Linked DNA regions of Homo sapiens: regions 2, 3, 4 and 5 are each linked to region 1. The links are contacts of gene promoters, found by promoter capture Hi-C in blood cells and fetal thymus (Javierre and others, 2016). All regions are on one chromosome and are shown on one strand. Each heading gives the region's core, a stretch centred on a gene start or on the middle of the fragment in contact. The rest is flanking DNA. Distances are from core to core; before and after follow the strand shown.

Region 1 (2,700 bases), core at 177-2,676:
TCATCCACCAGCATGGAAGCTCCACAGGACAGGCCTTTTTGCTGATTTAGGTCACTGCCACGTTCTTACCAACAGGAACAGTGCCTGGCTGAGATTTGGCACTCATTAAAGATGTGTGGACTCAAGGTGTTGAATGGGGGACTGGGAAATCTCACAGGAGCCAATAGGCTCCTGTGTGCACTTTATTTTATTTTATTTTTGTTAGAGACAGGGCCTCACTCTGTTGCTCAGGCTGGAGTGCAGTGGTGCAAACGTAGCTCACTGCAGCCTAGAACTCACTGACTCAAGCCTCAGCCTCCCAAGTAGCTGGGACTACAGGCACATGCCACCATGCCCGGCTAATTTTTAAAAAAATTTTTGTAGGGATGGGGTCTCACTGTGTTGCCCAGGCTGATCTTCCCACCTCTGTCTCCCAAAGTATTGGGATTACAGGCATGAGCCACCTTGCCCAGCCCTGGGTGTGCTTTACAGGGGACTTGAGAATTAAATGGGTGTCTAACACTTGCGGGTACATGACATAGAGGGATCTATGGTTTATGCGGAAAGCTAATGGGGGCAGGCGGGTTACTCACAGGCAGAGCACATGCTTGTGGACCTGCTACAGTGGGGATGTATGGGCTGTACTGGGGTCCACATGAAGATATAAAGGACCCTATGACGAGCACAGAGAATATATGGGGGTCTAAAAACATAACACAGGGAAACTGAGGGGGTTCTGGAAGCTTCTCTGTAAAGAGAATCCAAAATCACTCTGGGCTGTGGGTAGATATGGGGCCTTGACATTGGTGGGGACACAGACTTACCCTTACCCTGAATGGGTGGCCTTAGGGGGCTGGGGAAACAGACATGAATTTTGGGTCAGCAACTCCAAGAATTCTTTCCCCTCTCTGTCTCTGTCTCCCTCCATATGTCCCCACCTCTCCCCAGCACGTGTCCCTCCACCTGTGTGTACCCCCGGCCCTCTCTACAGCTCCATCTGCGCCCCCTCTCCCCCACCTCTCTGGTTGGTCTTCCTCTCTCTGTCTCTCTGAATCTCTGACTCTCTCCATCCCTCTGTCGGCTTCCAGCAGCTTTCTCTCCCTCTCCCTGTCTGTTTTCCCGGCTTGCCATTCCTTCCTTCTCTTCTGTCCCTGTCCATCTCTGCCCTTCCTCCCTCTCTGCCTCAGCCTGTCTCTGGTGGTCTCCATCCCTCTGGCGTCTCTGCCTGTCTCCCGTCTCTGTGTCAGCCAGCATCTCTCTTTGTGTATCTCCATCTCTGCCCCATCTGTTGGGTCCTCTCTCTCTCTCTCCATCCTTCCCTCCATCCTCTCTCCTGCATCCTCCCACCTCCTCTCCATCCCTCCAGCTGGAGGCCCGCCCCCTGCCCCCCCTCGCTCCCCCTCCCCCCTCCGAAAGGGTTAACTTTGGGGAAGGGCCCGGAGTCCCCGGATGGTGATGTCAGCGTGCCGGAGAGAAAGGACGAGGTGGCGGGGGGAGGCGGAGAGGAGGAGGAGGCGGAGGAGAGAGGGCGCGTGGGGGGGCGGGGGGGACCTCGGCCTGCAGCATCCGCCGGCCCGCACCTCAGACCCCCCCGGCGGGGGGAGGCGCAGGAAGCGGGGGGCCGGCCAGAAACGGGCTGGGGAGGGGGGGCCCCGCAGCCCCCCTGGGCCATGCTGACTCCCGGGGCCTGACCCCCCCGGGCCAGCCCCCCCTCCCCCAGCTCCGCGGCCCGCCGACTGGGGGGGGCCAGCCCAGCCCCCTGGGGACCCCCGGAGAGGTGGGGGGCAGCCGGGGGGGCCGGGACGGAGCGGTCGCCGGCCCCCACCGGAGAGACGGGGCGACGGCCGCAGGGGGGGCGGCCGGGGGACCGGTCGGGCCGGGACCAAGGGCACCATGTCGTCCGGGGCCAAGGAGGGAGGTGGGGGCTCTCCCGCCTACCACCTCCCCCACCCCCACCCCCACCCACCCCAGCACGCCCAATATGTGGGCCCCTATCGGCTGGAGAAGACGCTGGGCAAAGGACAGACAGGTGAGCCTAGCAGAAGGGGACACCTGGGGCGGGGGGCAGGGTGGAGGTGGCGGCAGAGGCGGGACTCAGGGTATTCAAATGGCAGGGGCTGGCTGCCCAGACCCCTGGGCCCCTCATAGAGAAGGGACTTGGGATTCAGACTCCTGGGTCCCTGGATGGAGGGGGTGGGGGGCGCAGACTCAGGTCCTGGAGGAGAGGGGCTGGGGGCCTGGACTCCTGGGTCTGAGGGAGGAGGGGCTGGGCACTGGACTCCTAGGTCTGAGGGAGGAGGGCCTGGGGGCCTGGACTCCTGGGTTTCAGGGAGGAGGGCCTGGGGGTCTGGACTCCTGGGTTTCAGGGAGGAGGGGCTGTGCTTGGACTCCGGAGTCTGAGGGAGGAGAGGCTGGTGGCCTGCACTCCTGGGTCTGAAGGAGAAGGGCTTGGGGGCCTGGACTCCAGGGTCTGAGGGAGGAGGGGCTGGGGGTCTGGACTTCTGGGTCTGAGGGAGGAGGGGACTGGGGTCCTGGACTTTTGGGTTTGAGGGAGGAGGGACTGCGGTCCTGGACTTTCAGGTCTGAGGGAGGAGGGCCTGGGGGCCTGGACTCCTGAGTATGAAGGAAGAGGGTCTGGGGTCTGGACTCCTGGGTCTGAGGGAGGAGGGGCAGGGGTGCTGAACTCCTGGGTCTGAAGGAGGAGGGGCTGGGGGCCTGGAC
Region 2 (2,700 bases), core at 91-2,590, 73 kb after region 1:
CAGTGAGCTGTGATGGCATCACTGCACTTCAGTCTGGGCAACATGTGAGACCTCTTTTCTACAAAAAAATCAAAAACTTGGCTGGGCTTTTGGAGGCTGAGGCAGGAGGATCACTTGAGCCCAGGAAGATAAAGGCTGCCATGAGCCACGATCACACCGCTGCACTCTAGCCTGGCAATAGAGCTCACCCCTGTAATCCCAGCACTTTGGGAAGCCGGATGGATCACCTGAGGTCAGGAGTTTGAGACTAGCCTGGCCAACATGGCGAAACCCCATCTCTAAAAAAAAAAAAGAAAAGAAAAGAAACAGGGTGTCACTCTATTGCCCAGGCTGCAGTGCAGTGGCACGATGGTGGGTCACTGCAGCCTCGACTTCCCAGTTCAACCAGTCCTCACATCTCAGCCTCCAGAGTAGCTGGGACCACAGGCACATGGCACCATGCCTAGTTAACTTTTTTTTTTTTTGAGACGGAGTCTCGCTCTGTTGCCCAGGCTGGAGTGCAGTGGCACGATCTCAGCTCACTGCAACCCGTCGCCATGCCCGGCTAATTTTTGTATATTTAGTAGAGATGGGGTTTCACCATCTTGGCCAGGCTGGTCTTGAAATCCTGACCTCGTGATCCACCCTCCTCGGCCTCCCAAAGTGCTGGGATTACAGGTGTGAACCACCAACTTTTTTTGTTTTCACATTTTGTAGAGATGAGGTCTCACTCTTTTGCCCAAACTTGTCACCATTTTTTAATGTACCCCTTAAAGTGGCATTCGGCACATTCACAATGTCATGCAACCACCTCTACCTAGTTCCAGGGCATTTGTATCACCCACAAAGAAACCTCCAACCTGGCTGGGCACGGTGGCTCACGTCTGTAATCCCAACACTTTTGGGAGGCCGAGGTGGGCAGATCACCTGAGGTCAGGAGTTCGAGACCAGCCTGGCCAACATGGTGAAACTCCGTCTCCACTAAAAATACAAAAATCAGCCGGGCGTGGTGGTGAGCACCTATAATCCCAGCTACTCGGCTCCTCAAGAGGCTGACAGGAGAATTGCTTGAACCCAGGAGGCAGAGGTTGCAGTGAGCTGAGATCGCGCCACTGCACTCTAGCCTGGGCGACAGAGCAAGACTCCGTCAGAAAAGAGAAGAGGAAGGGAGGGGAGAGGACCTCCAACCCATGAGTAGTCACTCCCGCTTCCTCCACACTAGACCCCTGGCCTCCAACGATTCACTTTCTGTCTCTACGGGTCAGCCTGTTATGGACATTTCATGGAAATGGGGTCTTTGTGGCCTTTTCTGTCCTCCAGGTGCCCACTCTTGCCCCCCTACATCCTCCATGCCCCAGCCAGAGGCAGCCTCTTCACACATAAATCCGTCTCCATCATTCTTCTGCTCCAAACCCTCCAGCTCGCTCAGAGTCAGAGCCAAAGTCCCTAAAATTGTCTGCAAAGTCCTCCATGATGGGCGCCCCCCTGCTGCACCTCTGACCGCATTTCCCACCCCGGGATCCCCGTGGTCCAGCACATTACAAACACTCCTGCCTCAGGGACTGCAGTGGCTGTTCCTTCCGCTGGGATGCTTTCCCCCCAGATGTCCTCATGGCTTCCTCCGTCCTCTCCTCCAGGTCTTGACACAAACAACCCCAGCTCCGTGAGGGCTCCCTAGAGCACCTGGGCTGTGGTGGGGGCTGTCCTGTGCACTGTAGGTTGCTCAGCAGCATCCCTGGTCTCTACCTGCTAGAAGCCAGGAGCACATCCCACCACCACCAGCCCCATGGTCGGACACTGTATCCCCACTGCCTAGAACAATGCCTGGCACAGAGTCGGCACTCACTATATATCAGAGTGAAAGGGGGCCAGGCGTGGTGGCTCACGCCTGTAATCCCAGCACTTTGGGAGGCCGAGGCGGGTGGATCACTTGAGGTCAGGAGTTCAAGACCAGCCTGGCCAACATGGTGAAACCCCATCTCTACTAAAAATACAAAAATTAGCTGGGCGTGGTGGCACACGCCTGTAATCCCAGCTACTCAGGATGCTGAGGCAGGAGAATTGCTTGAACCCAGGAGGCGGAGGTTGCAGTGAGCCAAGATCATACCACCGCACTCCAGCCTGGGTGACAGAGTGAGACCCTGTCAAAAAAAAAAAAAAAAGTGAAAGGAAAGAGTGATCATCTCTGTCTCATAAACAGCAGAGCTCACAGTAAATAATAGCTGCTAACCCCCGCTACCTGGGCAGAAGGTTCAAGACGCCCGATTCCTCCTGTATCTCCTCTGCCTTGGTGGCCGTGTTCCTCACAGTTTCAAGTTCTAAGAGCATGGGCAAAAGAATTTCTGAAGACGACCCCACAGTGGCCAGGGGGTGCTGGGCTGGCATCCTCATGGGCTCCTGCGACACCCTCTTGGGCTGCTGGGACGCCCTGGCTGTGGCCTCCATCTTTGAGATGAGGGTCTCCGAGAGGGGCGATGGCCGTAAGTCCTCCCACGGTGAGGCGGTCAGGGGGATAGGCGCCTGGGAGATTCCTTCCCTCTTCAGACTGGCAGAGGTGGGCTTGGAGCGAAAGGGCACCTTGGGTGGCCCCTTGGGGTCCCAGGGTGGCTCCTTCATCTCGCCCCATGGCTGCTCCTTCATCTCGCCCCATGGCCGCTTGCCCTCCTTCACCCAGGTGTGCGACTCTGGCTGCTCTCTGACCACCACTGGCTTCCCCTCCAG
Region 3 (2,700 bases), core at 42-2,541, 110 kb before region 1:
TTCAAGCCATTCTCCTGCCTCAGCCTCCTGAGTAGCTGGGACTACAGGCATGTGCCATCACGCCCAGCTAATTTTGTATTTTTAGTAGAGACAGGGTTTCTCCGTGTTGGTCAGGCTGGTCTCAAACTCCCGACCTCAAGTGATCCGCCGGCCTTGGCCTCCCAAAATTCTGAGATTACAGGCGTGAGCCACTGCGCCCGGCTGTATTTATTTATTTATTTATTTAAGGCAGGGACTTGCTCTGTTGCCTAGGCTGGAGTACTCCAGCCTGAAACTCCTGGGCTCAATCGATCCTCCCACCTCTGCTCCCCAAGTAGCTAGAACTATAGCCACGTGCCAGCATACCTAGCTAACTTTACAAATTTTAAAAATAGAGAGGTTATCCAGGCTGGTGTCTAACCCTGGGCCCCAAGCAATCCTCCTGCCTCCCAAAGTGCTAGGATTAAGGCATGAGCCATCGTGCTTGGCCTTGTTTTCTTTTTAAATTGGTGTAAAACACACACACTATTAAGTTGATTGGGAATGACATTTAGTACACTTGCAATGCTGTGCAACCATCACCACTGTCTAATTCCAGAACTTTCTCATCACTCCAAAAGAAAACACGTACCCCATTTATCTCCCCATTTCTCTCTCCTCTGTCCCTGGCAACCACGAATCTACTTTCTGTCTCTATGTATTTGTCAGTGCAGGAGATTTCTTTTGGATGGAATACTGCACTATGCAGCCTTCTGTATCCGGCTTCCTTCACTTGGCATAATATTTTCAGGACTCATCTATGCTGAAGCATGAATCAATGCTTTCTTCTGTTTTTATGACCAAATAATATTCCACTGTTGTTCTCCCTAACCTTTGCAAGCTTCGTTCCTTCTTGTCATTCAAGTCATGGCCCAGACCGCACCTCCTCAGCAAGGCTGCCCCTGACCACCCTCCCTAAGTTATGTCAGCCTTTTTACGTTTTGGTCCCAGTGTGGACGGCCATTTGTAATGGTTTTATTCTTCTATCGCTCTGCTTTCTTGTTGAGACAGAGACCCAAGGACCCCATTGCCATCATCTAAATCAATCCCAGGATTTAGAGACAGGCTCTCTGGCTGTGTGATTCTGAGCATTTCACAGGAATTCTCTCTCTCTCTCTCTCTCTCTTTTTTTAGATGGAGTTTTGCTCTTGTTGTCCAGGCTGGAGTGCAATGGCGCGATCTCGACTCACTGCAACCTCCACCTCCTGGGTTCAAGCGAGTCTCCTGCCTCAGCCTCCCTAGTAGCTGGGATTACAGGTGCTTGCCACGACACCCAGTTAATTTTTGTATTTTTAGTAGAGACAGGGTTTCAGCATGTTGGCCCAGCTGGTCTTGAATTCCTGACCATAGGTGATCCGCCCACCTCAGCCTCCCAAAGTGCTGGGATTACAGGCGTGAGCCACTACGCCCAGCCCCAAATTTTCTAAAGCACAGTTTGGACTCATTTGTCAACTGGGAATAATGATCATGTTTATTTCATGAGTTTGCTGTGAGGATTATTATTGGCAGTAATAGTAGTAACATAAAGGGCTGTCTTCATAAAGACATGCTCTACAGCCACACACACACACACACACACACACACACACACACACACACTCACACACATGAAAAGTTACTGAATTCCTTTGGAGAAAAATTAAAAATCTCATGGATATTATAATCTGTGTAGCTGTTCTATTTTCACTTTCCCGATTGGCTACCAGGAAGCTTAGGAGCAAGTAAGTTTGTTTGCTGCCTCCTTTTTTGGTACGTGGGGGTAATTTTTGCCTCATTCTCCACTTAATCTGCTGCTCAGAGAGTTCTCTGGCCAAATCTTATAGGTCTTTGTTCACCACCCAAAATTCTGTATGGGATGAGATAAGGTAGAAGCCAATGGAACTATCATCTTTGCTAGAAACAGAGTAGGAGGCAGCATTCGTTGAAAGAACAATGAGGTCAGATGCGGCGGCTCATGTCTACAGTCCCAGCTACTCACACAGGAGGATTGCAGGAGTTTGAAACCAGCCTGTGCAACATAGCAAGACCCCATCTCTAAAAAAGAAAAGAAAAGAAAAGAAAAAATTAGCTAGGCATGGTTGCATGTGCCTGTGGTCCCAGCTACTCAGGAGTCTGAGGCAGGAGGATCCCCTGAGCCCAGGAGGTTGAGGCTGCAGTGAGCTATGATTGCCCCACCGCACTCCAGCCAGGGTACACAGAGAAACCCTGTCAAAAAAAGAAGAAAGAAGAGGCTGAGGCAGAAGAATCGCTTGAACCCGGGAGGCAGGGGTTGCGGTGAGCCGAGATTGCACCATTGCCCTCCATTCTGGGCAACAACAGCGAAACTCCGTCTCAAAATTAAAAAAAAGAAGAAGAGAAGAAAAGAAATAGAAAAGAAAAGAAAAGAAGAAGGGCCGGGCGCGGTGGCTCACGCCTGTAATCCTAGCACATTGGGAGGCCGAGGCGGGCGGATCACGAGGTCAGGAGATCGAGATCATCCTGGCTAACACGGTGAAATGCCGTCTCTACTAAAAATACAAAAAAATTAGCCGGGTGTGGTGGCGGGCGCCTGTAGTCCCAGCTGCTCGGGAGGCTGAGGCAGGAGAATGGCGTGAACCCGGGAGGAGGAGCTTGCAGTGAGCCGAAATCGTGCCACTGCACTCCAGCCTGGGCGACAAAGTGAGACTTCATCTCAAAAAAACA
Region 4 (2,700 bases), core at 99-2,598, 110 kb after region 1:
TGTCTTACACAGATTGGATCATGGCAACAGGAACCTCCCCCTTGCTCCTTTTCCCTAATGCACTGGGCTGTCTCTCCATCAGCACACACAGGCTGCGGGCCCCTTTCGATGGCCATCAGCGCTGCATTGATGAAGCCACTCATTTAAACACACCCCTCAATGGCTAATCCCCCAGAGGCTCCCCAGCACCCCTCTCCTCTGTTCCTCTTGAACACCTGGCCCTCCCCCAGGCCCAGCCATCCCTAGCATGTCTGAATCACACCTCCAGCGGCCCCAGCTCCCACCGGCCTCCCACACCCGCCCGCTCCCCTGCTGTCCCTCCAGGCTGTTCTCTACACAGTAGCAAATTGATCTTTACAAATGATAAATGAGACCTGTCATCCTCCCTTGGCCGACGCACCCCCCCCCCCCCCCGACCCCCATGAGGAATAAAAGCCCAAACCTTTCTCTAGGGCCAGCAAGGCCCGGGATCTGGCCCTGTCCAGTCTCCCCAGCCTCCTTAGGCTGTAATCTCTGAGGCCTCTCTCCTCCCTGAAGCTCCTAGCTGGTCCCTAGGCTCAGATGAAGACTGTCTCCAAAAAAAGAAAAAGGTATAATTCACGTAACATAAAGTCCACGCTTTTAGAGTGCACAATTCAGTGATTTTTAGTCTTCACAAAGCTTTGCAACCACAACCCCTATCTTATTCCAGAACATTTCATCATCCTGAATGGACACCCAGTATCCATGAAGCAGCCACTCCCACTCATGTCCCCTCTAGCCCCTGCCCTGCCAATCACCAATTTGTTTTTTTTTTTTTTTTTTTGAGATGGAGTCTTGCTCTGTCGCCCTGGCTGGAGTGCAATGGCATGACCTTGGCTCACTGCGACCTCAGCTCACTGCAACCTCCACCTCCTGGGTTCAAGCGATTCTCCTGCCTCAGCCCCTCAAGTAGCTGGGATTACAGGGGCCCGCCACCACGCCTGGCTAATTTTTGTATTTTTAGTAGAGACGGGGGTGTCACCATGTTGGCCAGGCTGGTCTCGAACTCCTGACCTCAGGTGATCTGCCTGTGTTGGCCTCCCAAAGTGCTGGGATTACAGGTGTGAGCCACTGCACCCAGCTACAAGTCTTTTTTTTAAAGGGACAGGGTCTCAGCTGGGTACGGTGGCTCACTCCTGTAATCCCAGCACTTTGGGAGGCCCAGGCAGGCGGATCACAAGGTCAGGAGATCAAGACCATCCAGGCTAACACAGTGAAACCCTATCTATACTAAAAATACTAAAAACTGGCCAGATGTGGTGGTGTGCGCCTGTAGTCCCAGCTACTTGGCAGGCTGAGGCAGGAGAATCGCTTGAATCCAGGAGGCGGAGGTAGCAGTGAGCCAAGATCACGCCACTGCACTCCAGCCTGTGTGACAGAGCGAGACTCCGTCTCAAAAACAAACAAACAAACAAAAAGATAAAGGTCTGTTGCTCAGGCTGGAGTGCTGTGGCACAATCTCGGCTCACTGCAGCCTTGAACTCCTGGGCTCAAACAATCCTCCCACCTCAGTCTCCGAAGTAGCTGGCACCACCGGTGTGCTCCACCACACCCAGCTAAGTTTTAAATATTTTTGTAGAGACAAGGTCTCACTGTGTTACCCAGGTTGGGCTTGAATTCCTGACCTCAAGTGATCCTCCTGCCTTGGCCTCTAAAAGTGCTGGGATTACAGGTGTGAGCCACTGCACCTAGCCCAGAATTTCTATTTATTTATATATATTTTTAAAAAGAATCTCACTCTGTTTTCCAGGCTGGAGTGCTGTGGCAAGATCAAGGCTCTCTGTAGCCTTGAACTCCTGGGCTGAAACAGTCCTCCCACCTCAGTCTCCAGAGAGGCTGGGACCACAGGTGTGTGCTGCCACACCCAGCTAATTTTTAAAATTGTTTTGTAGAGACACGATCTCACTATGTTGTCCAGGCTGGTCTTGAACTCCTGGGCTCAATCCTCCCAAAGTGCTGGGATTATAGGCGTGAGCCACTGTGCCTGGCCCCACCCAGAATTTTTAAAACATGAAAAAGCTTATGTTTTGGGCCAATCTCTAAAATATATTAAGTGAAAAAAAGCAACCTGCAAATAGTGTAAATGATATGCCAACATTCCTGTTAAATATTTTTAAATATTTAAACAATAAGATGCATGTGTATTTGCTTGTATATGCATCGAATGCCTCTGGATAGTCACAATATGCAAACATTTGTCTCAAGGAAGGAGAGTTGGAATACCATGTGATGAATATTAGCCTTTCTTTTTTTTCCTTTTCTTATTTATTTATTTATTTATTTTTTTGAGACAGAGTTTCACTCTTGTCGCCCAGGCTGGAGTACAGTGGTGCGATCTCGGCTCACTACAACCTCTACCACCTGGGTTCAAGCGATTCTTCTGCCTCAGCCTCCCAAGTAGCTGGGATTACAGGCATGCGCCACCATGCCCAGCTAATTTTGTATTTTAAGTAGAAACAGGGTTTCACCATGTTGGCCAGGCTGGTCTTGAACTGACCTCAAGAGATCCACCCATCTTGGCCTCCCAAAGTGCTGGAATTACAGGCGTGAGCCACTGTGCCTGGCCTTCTTTTTCTCTTTTTTTTTTTTTTTTGAGACAGAGTCTCTTGCACTCTCCCCCAGTCTGGAGTGCAGTGGCGCCATCTCGGCTCACTGCAAGCTCCGCCTCCCGGGTTCACG
Region 5 (2,700 bases), core at 117-2,616, 92 kb before region 1:
AGCTGGGATTACAGGCGTGAGCCACCATGCCTGGCCCTGTCTGAAAGTTTATATCATATTTTTTATGATCTTTTTTAATTTTTTATTACTATTATTTTTTTGAGACGGAGTCTCGATCTGTCACCCAGGCTGCAGTGCAGTGGCGTGATCTCAACTCACTGCAAGCTCTACCTCCCAGGTTCACGCCATTCTCCTGCCTCAGCCTCCCAAGTAGCTGGGACTATAGGTGCCCGCCACCAAGCCTGGCTAATTTTTTGTATTTTTTAGTGGAGACAGGGTTTCACCACGTTAGCCAGGATGGTCTTGATCTCCTGACCTTGTGGTCTGCCTGCCTCAGCTTCCCAAAGTGCTGGGATTACAGGCATGAGCCACCGCACCCAGCAATCTTGTTTATTGATATCTCCTGTACTAGAATATAAGCCCCTGGCGGGCAAGAATCTTGGTTTCATTTGCTGTTTGTTTGGCACCTGGAACAGTGCCTGATACATGCTGGTGCTCAGCTGATATCTGCTGAATGAATGAATGTCCGGGAGTTGAGACCAGAACTGAATTCGCTGGCCCAGGCTGCTTGGGGAGTGAGTCACGATGGAAGGGCCGTGGTCCCTGTCGCAGAGGCATGGGCCCCTTCTGAGACCTTTGTGGGTAAATGCATTGATCCACCCTCTGACCTAGCTGGCAGCCAGCAAACACCCCTTGATTTGACCAGATTCTTTCCAATGCACCCCCCAGACCTTCTGCTCACCTAAAGACCAGATCCCTGAGTTCTGGTTTCTGCTGCTTCTTCTTATTCCTGGGAAAAGGACGTTAGGATGAGAGGCTCAGGGGGTGAGGCTGCAACCAGCGGTCCTCCTCCTTCTTCTCCAGCCCCCACCCTCCAGGCGGTCAGCCCTGTGCTGAGTCTCACCTCCTCTTCAGGAAGAAAATCAGCAGGCCCACGAGGATGAGAAACAGGAGGATGCCCACAAAGGCTCCGGCAATGACCCCTGTGGGGAGGAGGCATCGGGAACCCTCAGAGCGCAGGTCTGAGCTGCTCATCTGTCTCCAACCCTGCCCAGCCTTTCCTCTTCCCCAGGAGCCTGGTCCAAAGACAGCTGACCCCCGAACATCACACGGTGTGAATTGCGTCGGTCCAGTTATACTTACGCGCTTACCCATGGATTTTCCTCCACCCCTGAGACAGCAAGACCAGCCCCTCTCCTACCTCCTCCTCCTCCTCCGCCTACTCAACGCGAAGACTACAAGGAGGAAGACCTTTATGATGATCTACTTAATAAATAGCGAGTACATTTTCTCTTCCTTAGGATATTCTTAGTAACATTTTTTTCTTTAGCTACTTGATTATAAGAATACAGCATATAGTACGGCCGGGCGCGGTGGCTTACGCCTGTAATCCCAGCACTTTGGGAGGCGGAGATGGGCACATCACGAGGTCAGGAGATCGAGACCATCCTGGTTAACACGGTGAAACCCCATCTCCACTAAAAATACAAAAAATTAGCAGGGCGTGGTGGTGGGCGCCTGTAGTCCCAGCTACTCGGGAGGCTGAGGCAGGAGAATGGCGTGAACCCGGGAGGTGGAGCTTGCAGTGAGCCCAGATCACACTACTGCACTCCAGCCTGGGTAACAGAGCAAGACTCTGTCTCAAAAACAAACAAACAAACAAAAAGAATACAGTATGTAGTACATATTACAGATGAAATGTATGTTGTTTATGTTATTGGTAAGGCTTCCAATCAAGAGTAGGCTATTAGTAGTTAAGTTTTGGGGGAGTCAAAAGTTATGTGCAGATTTTTTTTTCTTTTTCTTTTTCTGAGACAGAGTCTTGCTCTGTCACCCAGGCTGCAGTGCAGTGGTGCGACCTCGGCTCACTGCAACCTCTGCCTCCCGGGTTCACGCCATTCTCCTGCCTCAGCCTCCTGAGTAGCTGGGACTACCGGTGCCCGCCACCACTCCTGGCTAATTTTTTGTATTTTTAGTAGAGTTGGGGTTTCACCGTGTTAGCCAGGGTGGTCCTGATCTCCTGACCTCGTGATCCACCTGCCTCAGCCTCCCAAAGTGCTGGGATTATAGGCATGAGCCACCATGCCCGGCTGTTATATGCAGATTTTCTACTGTGTAGGGGACAATTGTTCAAGGGTCAACTATCCATCATTTTCACAGGTGACCTGGTTGCTGAAGAGTGACTCCTGGCCAGGCATGGTGGCTCACCCCTGTAATCCCAACACTTTGGGAGGCTGAGGTGGGTGGATCACTTGAGCCCAGGAGTTTGAGACCAGCCTGGGCAACATAACAAAACCCAGTCTCTACTAAAAAAACAAAAGTTAGCTGGGTATGGTGGTGCACACCTGTCATCCCAACTACTCAGGAGGCTGAGCATAAGAGTCACTTGAACCCGGGAGGTGGAGGCTGCAGTGAGCTGAGATTGCACGACTGCACTCCAGACTGGGTGATAGAGTGAGACTCTGTCTCAAAAAAAAAAAAAAGAAAAAGAAAGCAAAACAAAACAAAAAGAACCCCAACAAAATAGCTGGGCATGGTAGTACATGCCTGTAGTCCCAGCTACTCAGGGGACTGAGGCAGGAGGATCACTTGAGCCTGGGAGGTGGAGGCTGTGGTGGGCATGATCGTATCACTGCACTCCAGCCTGGGCAACAGAGTGAGACCCTGTCTCAAAAAAGAACAAAACGAAACAAAACAAAA

What was found. Contacts are between HindIII fragments. The CHiCAGO score rates a contact against its expected background, and 5 or more counts as called.
Region 2: a contact is called between a fragment that was not itself captured here and the fragment with the promoter of BRSK1 in region 1, in 9 of 17 cell types (erythroblasts, megakaryocytes, M1 macrophages and 6 more). The highest score is 9.1, in erythroblasts.
Region 3: a contact is called between a fragment that was not itself captured here and the fragment with the promoter of BRSK1 in region 1, in 15 of 17 cell types (erythroblasts, endothelial precursors, M1 macrophages and 12 more). The highest score is 12.1, in erythroblasts.
Region 4: a contact is called between a fragment that was not itself captured here and the fragment with the promoter of BRSK1 in region 1, in 13 of 17 cell types (erythroblasts, megakaryocytes, M0 macrophages and 10 more). The highest score is 15.8, in erythroblasts.
Region 5: a fragment that was not itself captured here is called in contact with the fragment with the promoter of BRSK1 in region 1 in 7 of 17 cell types (megakaryocytes, total CD8 T cells, erythroblasts and 4 more); the score reaches 8.4 in megakaryocytes.

Annotation. Positions count from the first base shown.
Region 1 is chr19:55,282,571-55,285,270 of GRCh38, forward strand. It overlaps BRSK1 (BR serine/threonine kinase 1), which reads left to right and starts at 1,427. Exons shown (of 19, transcript NM_032430.2): 1 at 1,427-2,008. The coding sequence starts at 1,873. The HindIII fragment of the contact is 8,428 bases long and covers 721-2,700 here.
Region 2 is chr19:55,355,927-55,358,626 of GRCh38, forward strand. It overlaps GARIN5B (golgi associated RAB2 interactor family member 5B), which reads right to left. Exons shown (of 11, transcript NM_001145402.2): 9 at 2,219-2,700. Among named protein-coding and RNA genes, the nearest start is that of COX6B2, 2.6 kb to the left of the region's middle. The HindIII fragment of the contact is 3,297 bases long and covers 1-2,700 here.
Region 3 is chr19:55,169,730-55,172,429 of GRCh38, forward strand. It overlaps SYT5 (synaptotagmin 5), which reads right to left. Exons shown (of 9, transcript NM_003180.3): 9 at 1,467-2,700. Among named protein-coding and RNA genes, the nearest start is that of DNAAF3, 4.5 kb to the left of the region's middle. The HindIII fragment of the contact is 869 bases long and covers 858-1,726 here.
Region 4 is chr19:55,392,846-55,395,545 of GRCh38, forward strand. It overlaps a transcript of RPL28 not described here. Among named protein-coding and RNA genes, the nearest start is that of MIR6805, 6.0 kb to the left of the region's middle. The HindIII fragment of the contact is 1,380 bases long and covers 659-2,038 here.
Region 5 is chr19:55,190,759-55,193,458 of GRCh38, forward strand. PTPRH (protein tyrosine phosphatase receptor type H) reads right to left here. Exons shown (of 20, transcript NM_002842.5): 11 at 905-983; 12 at 743-790. Among named protein-coding and RNA genes, the nearest start is that of SYT5, 12 kb to the left of the region's middle. The HindIII fragment of the contact is 4,918 bases long and covers 1-2,700 here.